Linked DNA regions of Homo sapiens: all the other regions are linked to region 1. Evidence: promoter capture Hi-C in 16 types of primary human blood cells and fetal thymus (Javierre and others, 2016). All regions are on one chromosome and are shown on one strand. Each heading gives the region's core, a stretch centred on a gene start or on the middle of the fragment in contact. The rest is flanking DNA. Distances are from core to core; before and after follow the strand shown.

Region 1 (3,147 bases), core at 328-2,827:
ATTTTTTTTGGTGCAGTGGGTTTTTCCCTATGTTGCCAAGGCTGGTCTCAAACTCCTGGGCTCAACCAGTCCTTTCACCTTGGCCTCCCAGAATGCTGGGATTATAGGTGGGAGCCACTGTGCCTGACCTTTCTTGTACATTTGTGAATTTGAAAGAGTTATATGCCAGCTTCTAAGGCATTTCTTAAAGATGAATTTTTAAATCCTGGTTTCTTTTAAGTCTTTTTGGAATAGCTATACATTAGCCAAAGTAAATTTTTTGATACAAGTTTACCTCTAAAGGAAGAGGACATTCGAATAGGGTTTTATAGCTATTTCAGTATAGGGTTTTATGATTTTCTCTTAAGGAATTTCAGAGTATGTGTCATTGTTTCAAGATTTTCTATTTACTACTTTAAAAATGGAAATAATAGGTCTTTGGTACCTTCTTGAAGGTCATATGCCACAAAGAATGCAAAAATACATGAAAGTCCTTAGTATTTGTTGTTATGGTCATTTTTTAGAGCTAATTTTATTTTTAATCATTAGCGGTTGCTTCGTTTGGAGTTCTGTTTTTATAACAATGATAGATAATATCTGCATCATATTATTGATGTAAAAAAAATCTACCTTTGAAATGAATTAGGGATGTACCATACTTTTGAATGTTTGTCATCAAACAACATTTAGCATAAACTGCATCTAGTGGCCATTGCTCTGTAATATGTAAAGACTTGTCGGTACTTTGTCCTGCTAATTAATTTGAGGATTTAGATTGTAAGCTCTGTGAGGGCAGAAAGTAATATTTTTCTCATTTTTGTAATCTTTTCTATTATTGTCTGCATAGCATAGTACTTTACACTGTATCAGAAATTGAGTATTTTGGTTTAGGCTTCTATGGTAATAGAGGTTAAGAAAGGAAATTTGGTAGACCTTTAACATTTGCTGGATTTTGACATTTTTGATTTTTGACTGAAGTCTTCAAGTTCTGTTACATGACACAAGAATGTGAAATGATTTTTTCTTTTTTTGGGAAAAGCTGGTTTTTTGTGTGCTTTATATAATTTAAAGAAAAGACTTGTTATGAAATAGTTTCAGTCATTTTCTGAATTATTGTTGAAATTAGTACAGGGTAGATTCACATGGTCAGAAAGTGTCACTTAAAGTTTTCACCTTTAGCTTATGTGGTTGATATTTATCTAATTAGAAATTAAGACCCAGAAATTTAAAAAATTCAAGCACATATTCCATTAGCTGCCAGAGCAATGTCACCACACATCCTGTAGCTTCTAGAAAACCATGTAACATATACTCATGAGGGAATGAGAGCAAGGGGAAAAGGCAAAATGTGAAACATAAGGATATATAATGTCTTAGTATAATAATGAAATAATTTTGACTTCATGTATTCCCTGAAGAGTCCACACTGTGATAACTGCTGCTTTATATTGTTATGATTACTCACAGACAGAAGCTATGTGGAAGAGAAGCAAAAAAGTAAAGGAGTAGAATAGACAGCGGAGCATGTTTTAAAATGTAAAATATAGAGTACCTGTAAAATGTAGTAGTATTTTCTTCTTATAGTAGTATTTACAGCCCTGAGAGAGAAGATTGAATTAATTACAACTTGAACACTTGACCATTTCTACTGCTGTATTTTTTGTGAAAAACGAAAATTCAAATGTTTGTTTTATTATTTCCCACTATTTTTTTTTTTTTTTGTATATGGCTTAATATGTGCCACACTTAGGTAGTATGGTAAAGATGTAAAGGTACCTAGGCTTTGGATCTAAACAGACCTATACTCAAATCTCAGTTCTTGTTAGGGCTTGTACCTTGGGCAAGTTACTAATCTTTTTTCTCACCATTAAAATGAGAATTGTGTTTAGAAGTTTGTTATGAGGACTAACTATTTATGTAAAATTCTAGATACAATGCATTTGTCCAACCCCAAGTTCACAAAAGTCTGGTCATCCCCTTTTTGTAATTATAATTTGACTCTCATGTGCTTTTATTCAAATGAGAGAGAAACATAACTTTTCATCATAGCAACAAACTTAAAATAATGTCTTTTACTTATTATTGCTTGGAATCATCAATTATTTATGCTTTTTTCCTAGTCAAAGTAAACAAGTATGGAGATACTTGGGATGAGTGAAAAATTACATCATTGGACATGAAGGAGTTTCAACATCCAGCTTCATCTAGGTGGTCATGATTACCTGCATGCTTTGAGCTCAGCAGCAGTCTTCATAAACACATTTAAAACAAGATCCTGGGTTTTTGTGGTTTGACTTCTATGGTGTTTTAAAAAAACACAGATTTTTAGTGTTAATATTGTGTAAATGTACTCACCTTAGGGATTCATTTGAATGATGGTATTATACCATGATTGTATACAGTTTGTGAAATTGTTGCAAGGGCAAAGATAACTCTTAAAAAACCGTCGAGATTACAATGCTCTAGAATCAGCATATAAGAAAATAAATGATATCTGCATGTTGAATTGGGGTGGATGGGGGGAGCAAGCATAATTTTTAAGTGTGAAGCTTTGCATCAAGAAATTATTAAAAAGCTTTTTTTCTCCAGTATTTTCTGTATTATCTTAATGTTTATGGCAAATAAAATGTAAAGGAACATGCAACAGCCCTCATCTTCCTTGATTTTATGGTTTTATTGTTTGTAATTTATTGATTTATTTTTAAGCTAGTTATAATCATGTAGGTATAGGAAATAAAGTCATCTATAATATTTCTATAATATGGCTATAATATGGCTATAAATCTATAATATGGCTGGAGGCAGTGGGCAGTGGTTCATGCCTGTAATCCCAGCACTTTGGGAGGCCGAAGTGGGAGGATTGCATGAGTCCAGGAGTTTGAGACCAGCCTGGGCAACAAAGCGAGACCCTGTCTTTACAAAAAAATAAAAATTAGCTGGCGATGGTGTCGTGTGCCTGTAGTCCTAGTTACTTAAGAGGCTGAGTTGGGAGGATCAGTTGAACCCAGTGGTTCTGGGTTGCAGTGAGCTGTGGTCACACCACTGAACTCCAGCCTGTGCGACTGAGTGAGACCCTGTGTCTAAAAAAATAAAAATATAATGAATGTGATTTATGTAGATAAATTGATAATATAGTAAATAGGTAAATGCCTTAAAAAGCATTTTTAA
Region 2 (3,312 bases), core at 771-3,270, 160 kb before region 1:
TTACTGCAGCACTATTTACAATAGCAAAGACATGGAACCAACCCAAATGCCCATCAATGATAGACTGGATAAAGAAAATGTAGTACATATACACCATGGAATACCGTGCAGCCATAAAAAAGAATGAGTTCACGTCTTTTGTGGGGACATGGATGAAGCTAGAAGCCATCATCCTCAACAAACTAACACAAGAACAGAAAACCAAATACCGCATGTTCTCACTCATAAGTGGGAGTTAAACAACGAGAACACGTGGACACTGGAAGGGGAACATCACACACTGGGGCCAGTCAGCAGGTGGGGGGCAAGGAGAGGGAGAACACTAGGACAAATAGCTAATGCATGTGGGGCTTAAAACCTAAATGATGGGGGGATAGGTGCAGGACACCATTATGGCACACGTATACCTATACAACAAACCTACACGTTCTGCACTTGTATCCCGGAACTTAAAGTATAATAAAATATATATATACATAATCAAATTAAATTACTAACTTTTAGTTTCAATGGTATTATTTTTCTCCTGCCTGCTTAATGATACTATTATTAAGCAAGAAAATAAGAAAAAAAAAACATAAGCCCAGTATAAAAGAAAAATAACGATAAGAGATCTATCTATCTATCTATCTATCTATCTATCTATCTATCTATCTATCTATCACTTTCACAAGTCAACCATGATCAACAGCACTCTTAAATCCATCAGGTTTTGGCTCAAACAATCTCTGCTTTTGTCTTAAAATGAATAATTTTTCTCCAAAAAAAGTCAATTACAAGGTTTTTTCCTATATGCATCAAATTTCAATAAACTATTATGGTGTAACTGAAGAAGAAGAATAAAGGAAGCTACATCGAAGACTTGGAATTTTAAACCACAATAAAACCTTGTACACTAAGGATAATAAGGTCAATTCCTATATTTTTATATACTATAAAATACCATATGATACAGTAAAAGACATTTCTTATAACAGCCTGAAAATTATGACTCTTACTTTCTTTCCATTTTTACCTAAATTTTACCTAAAATTTCCATTCTTTTGAGGTTTTGACTTATTTGGAAAAAATCTAGAATTTTACCAAAATTAATATAATTTCAGATTTGTAAACAAGGGAAATGTTTACAAACTTTTTTTACTTCAAAAAATAATGTATTTTTACAGGTGCCAATTTTAAATCTCCAGCTCTAGTTTACATTTCTCACCTTTCTTGGATTTCTCAATGTTGATTATAAACTAACTAAAATGAAGCATACTTCTATTTTTATTTTTTGGGATGGAGTCTCACTCTGTCCCCCAGGCTGCGGTGTCTCAGCTTACTGCAACCTCTGCCTCCTGGGTTCAAGCAATTCTCCTGCCTCAGTCTCCTGAGTAGCTGGGATTACAGGTGCACGCCACCACACCCGACTAATTTTGTATTTTTAGTAGAGATGGGGTTTCACTATGCTGGTCACGCTGGTCTTAAACTCCTGACCTCAGGTGATCCACCCGCATGGGCCTCGCATGAGCCACCATGTCTGGCCCTAAAATGAAGCATACTTTTAAAAAGCTTCATAGAGAAGTACTTAAAGAAAAAAATGAAATAGAGAATTTGCATTGGCAAAGAAGAAATAAGAATGGTAATGATGAGGATAGTACAGAATGGGAATAGCATCTCTGGAGACTTTTCATTAAAGACCTGTTAGTGATCAAGTTGAAGGATACAATTGAACCAATTGATGTTGAGGCATTTCCACAGGCACAGGGAGACCTGCATTTAACATTTACTGGGGATCAACCTAAGCTCCAGGAATCTATACTCAGTGGCACTTACACACACAGCTGCTACCATCAAGGAGTTTACAGACAAGCTGGAAAGGAGACATGGGCAGTAGCATGTTTCAAGTGCTTTGAGAGAAGTTACCTAAATATGTTCAAGCTGCAACCAGGTACAAAGGAGACAGTCATCAACCTGAGTGGAGAAGGGAACAGGAAAGACTTCACTGAAGAAGTGGTGCTCACAGCTCCTGTTACCAGAAGACTTACTATAGCCACAATCTGTAACTACGCGAATGGGTTCTTGCCTCTCTTTGAGAAGCTAGCTAACTGATGACTTTTAAAAAGCTACATAAGTAACATATTCAGGTGTTAATAAACAAGATGTTTTTCCTGTAAGCCTCCCTGCCACAATTTCTCAATGTGACGTGATGGGCTCCAAAGCTGGATGCTATCACACACCCTCTGAGTTACACAACAGCTCCTGGCTCTGTCCCAAAAGTGGTTATCTTGGTATTGCCTCCTCCCCATGTTTGTGAAAGAAAATACTGTGCTGGGTGAGATTTACACTGATTGACAGTTCCTCTCGCTCTAGAAATGTATAAAGCATAATAAGCAGTTTATTCAGATCAACATCCTCTGTAGAGAAAATAACACATTTCCAAGTTAGTAACAAAACAACATTCCAAATTAGTTTGGTCACTATGGATGACCATATAGAACATGCCACCACAAAGCTTAATCCTTCACATTCCAGTACACATCCTGTAACTCTGAAAAAACATGCATATAAGAGTCAGTAGGCACCACCCCCACCCCAACCCCCACAAATAGGCTTTATTCTCCACAGTGGTTAAGTCAGTCTAAACAAGTAACAAATATAGGAGGGTAGAATTCAGAATTGGTTCACTGCACTCTAACAAATGGTGCCCTAGAAATCCAAGTTAATTAAATACCCATAACAACAGCAGCAACGACTAATTACCGAGAGCCTACTATGTGTGACCATCTAAGATGCTTCACATATGTTACTTCATTTTAACCCAAACCAGCCCATAATTTCAGTAAATGTTCAACTTTACAAATGTGGAAACTGACAAAGCTAATAAATGAACTGAAAAGTACTGTACCTCTGGATTATATTTTAAAGTATAAGCTGTTATATGGAGTTGAGATAAAATTCTCAAATTAAAATGCAATTATTTTCAATGGCTGTTTGGAAGATAAAATGCAATTATGATTTCAATATGTCCTTATATTGATTCTGAACCTCAGAACAGAAAAAGCTAGAGAACTCTCAAAAAGGATAACTAAACATAATTAACACATCATTTGCTTTAAATATTTCATGAAAACATAAGAGTTTGCCCTATCAAAAGTAAAAAATAGTGGGGGATGGGAAAGAGATCATACTGTGACCAACAAATCACAGAGATGCTTATTTGAAGACTAAATTCAATCCTCATCTGTTAATATCTTACTATTTAAAGTTCAATGAACAACTTCATAAAGGAAAGAGATTGTCCTTTGTTTCAGCCAAGATTTTTAAATCTTT
Region 3 (3,010 bases), core at 430-2,929, 240 kb before region 1:
AGGGTCTTGCACTGTCACCCAGGCTGGAGTACAGTGGTGCAGTCATAGCTAACTGTAACCTCAAATCCCTAGGCTCAGGTGATCCTCCTGCCTCAGCCTCCAGAGTAGCTATGCCTACAGGCACATACCACCACACCCAGATAATTTTTTAATTTTTTTATATTTTGTAGAGATGGGGTCCCCACTACTAAAAAAAGTGTTATGTTTATAGGTCTTTTTTTTTCTTTTTTTTCCCCTACATGAAGACCTATCTGGACTGTGTTAAAAGAGGAGGAGGAGGGCTACAAAGGCAACAAGGAGGGGAAGAGGACAGGGAGGATGAGGGGGAAGAGATGGGAAAAATGCCTCCACAGGGTTGCCTGTGAATTGTAGTTCTGAAGCCAGTGCAATTGGGCAACTTTAGGATGAGGAGCGAGACTGACATCTAAGAAAAGGATGCCATGGGAAATGAACGAAGGAGGAAGGCACAATGGGGCCAGGTCACTGGGGTTCCTGAATGCTAATGTAGGGAGTCTGCCATTTCTCTGGCTGGAGGAAGAAACCCTATACTGTTTAAGCAAAAAAGTACAAATACTGGTTACCAATCCACTTAAATGAAATACATTTAGCACACAAGATACACCAGGGATAAATCACAATGAGCAGTAGTCAGAGTCCATTGCTGGGCTGTGGCCATATCCAGTCCTTAGCTCTTCCTATCCTAGTGACTGCTGCCTTAAGGTCTTAGTATCTCAGTTAAACCAAGAGATCACAGAAGTCAAATTTGGCTTGTTAGCACAACTCCCAGAGGAGATTTCTTTCCTACCTCTACCAAAAAACGTTTATGAAATGCATATATTAAAGTGATTTAACCTTTAATTAACTCTTCTGTTTTACATATTTAAAATTATGTTTATTTGCAGATTTCAGAGTACCAAAGAACTGTCTTTTCATATTCCTTGTAAAAATAAAAGCTAAATAAAACTGATTATATAATTCAAGTACTTTTATACTATGAGAAAAACAGACTGTCAATTAATTTTATATCTTGTATTTGCTGTTTGTCACATATTCCTTTCTATGTAACAAAAACAAAACTCCCTGTCCAAATGTGTCATATCCAAAATATGACTCTGACCTTTAGGCTTCCTAACTTGTTTCAAAAGAATACAATGTTCGTGCCTGGAAATACATGGATCATCCTTGAATGATATAACTTTAAAGACCATGATCTTTAAAAAAAAAAAAAAAAAAAGCTTTCAAATTCAGCACAGGCATTTATACTGATCTGGAGTAATAAAAATATTAAGACTATACCTGACACTATATTATATATTCATATCTTTACTGTGTATCTATCCCATTCAAGTGCAAGCTCATGAGTTTATTGCCTAAAACAGTGCCAGCACACAGTAGGCATTCTAATACTCATTGAATGAATAAACATTCCTAACTTATTATCTGAAGTATTCTCACTTGACTGAAAAACATTTGCACATGACAATTCAGTACCCTTATCAAATCACCCCATGCCTCTACTAAAAGTGCACAATTATTACATGTTGGAATGCAGGCTTGGGGGCTTAGAGGAGAAATAAAGTGGAATAAGGGACTGAAGTAGCTGAATGGCAGGCAAACTACATTTACAGCTAAAGGTCAATATTAACACAATTTCCATTCAGCTCCATTTTGCTAACAAGATTTTATATCTTGGATAAGCATACAAAGGTAAAAAATAGAGGAGATAACAGATAGGTACAGGGCAGGAAAGCCCCAGGCAACTGAAAGAAGTATAATGAAATTACAGGAATTTAATTTATGTGGGCTAAAATTCTAGACACAGCATCTTAAAGTAACTGAAACACGAAGGCACAGTAAGCAAAGAATAAGGAATACAGACTTTGCAGAAATAAAAGAGCTTACCTGCTTTAGAACTTCAACTAAAACTAAACAAAAAATGAAGTCTACTGCTAAGTCCCTCCTTTCAAGAAGATAATCTCTTTCACGTTGCTGTTCATCCCTGAAACAAGAATCCAAAATTAGTACTGCATTAAGATTATGACTTTAAAAATACCTGTTAGTTAGTAGCTCATGTCGCTTACTGTTTTCCTACTATGTAAAATGTGCTACAGCAATTGTTAATATGAAGCTTTTTGTTTTTTATTTTTGTCTTTTTGGTTTGAGACAGGGTCTCGTTCTGTCACCCAGGCTGGAGTGCAATGCTGCAAACATGGCCCACCGCAGCTTCAACCTCCTGGGTTCATGTGATCCTCCCACCCCAAGTAGCTAGACTACAGGCAAGCGCCACCATGCCCAGCTAATTTTATTTTTTCTAGAGAAGGGATCTCCCTATATTGCCCAGACTGGTCTCAAATTCCTGGGTTCAAGTGATCCTCCTGCCTGAGCCTCCTAAAGCAGATTACAAGCATAAGTCACAGTGCCTGGTCTGAAGCTTTTTAATAATCCAACATATGCAAAAACATGTTTTTATGTTCTTTCCCTTTTTATATACGGGGTGTTTATTCAGAGTTCACTATTATATCTGTTAGCATTTAAACTTAACCTAAAAGAATTAGTAAGAAGAAGAAAAGTATTTTAAATTTCATTTAGAAAATGTAGCATTGTTCCATATTTGATTACTAGTATTTTGTTAAGAACTGAAACAAAAGTATTAACTTTTCAACATGAAAATACAGTACAAGGTATCCTTCTCACAAATTTAAGTTGAAAAATCACAAGTGGCATCTACTGAAGTCCAACACTAAACCATGGACAATCACCTGAACACACGTGGCTCTTACATGCATGACAAGATCATCCTGGGAAATTTGAAGGAGAAGAAAACAAGTTCTAGGAATTGAGCTCCAAGAACAGTATCATAGTACTATTATAACACAGGGTTTTGGCAGTCTTCCTGTATTACAATAATTGCCTCCCTTCATAAACCATATGAACAGGAACTTCTTTGAATATTTTCTTAACTTTATGACTATTAAAAGCTCCTCACTGAACTGCTGAAATGGCACTCCTA

What was found. The method cuts DNA at HindIII sites, captures the fragments that hold promoters and counts their contacts. A CHiCAGO score of 5 or more calls a contact.
Region 2: a contact is called between a fragment that was not itself captured here and the fragment with the promoter of OCIAD1-AS1 in region 1, in 1 of 17 cell types (endothelial precursors). The highest score is 5.1, in endothelial precursors.
Region 3: a contact is called between a fragment that was not itself captured here and the fragment with the promoter of OCIAD1-AS1 in region 1, in 9 of 17 cell types (naive CD4 T cells, naive CD8 T cells, naive B cells and 6 more). The highest score is 8.0, in naive CD4 T cells.

The regions. Positions count from the first base shown.
Region 1 is chr4:48,858,626-48,861,772 of GRCh38, forward strand. It overlaps OCIAD1-AS1 (OCIAD1 antisense RNA 1), which reads right to left and starts at 1,578. Exons shown (of 2, transcript NR_146806.1): 1 at 1,532-1,578. It overlaps OCIAD1 (OCIA domain containing 1), which reads left to right. Exons shown (of 9, transcript NM_017830.4): 9 at 2,100-3,147. The coding sequence ends at 2,137. The HindIII fragment of the contact is 4,141 bases long and covers 1-2,526 here.
Region 2 is chr4:48,696,234-48,699,545 of GRCh38, forward strand. All of the region lies in intron 2 of FRYL (FRY like transcription coactivator), which reads right to left. Among named protein-coding and RNA genes, the nearest start is that of FRYL, 82 kb to the right of the region's middle. The HindIII fragment of the contact is 943 bases long and covers 1,550-2,492 here.
Region 3 is chr4:48,617,372-48,620,381 of GRCh38, forward strand. FRYL (FRY like transcription coactivator) reads right to left here. Exons shown (of 64, transcript NM_015030.2): 7 at 1,903-1,999. Among named protein-coding and RNA genes, the nearest start is that of ZAR1, 130 kb to the left of the region's middle. The HindIII fragment of the contact is 893 bases long and covers 1,234-2,126 here.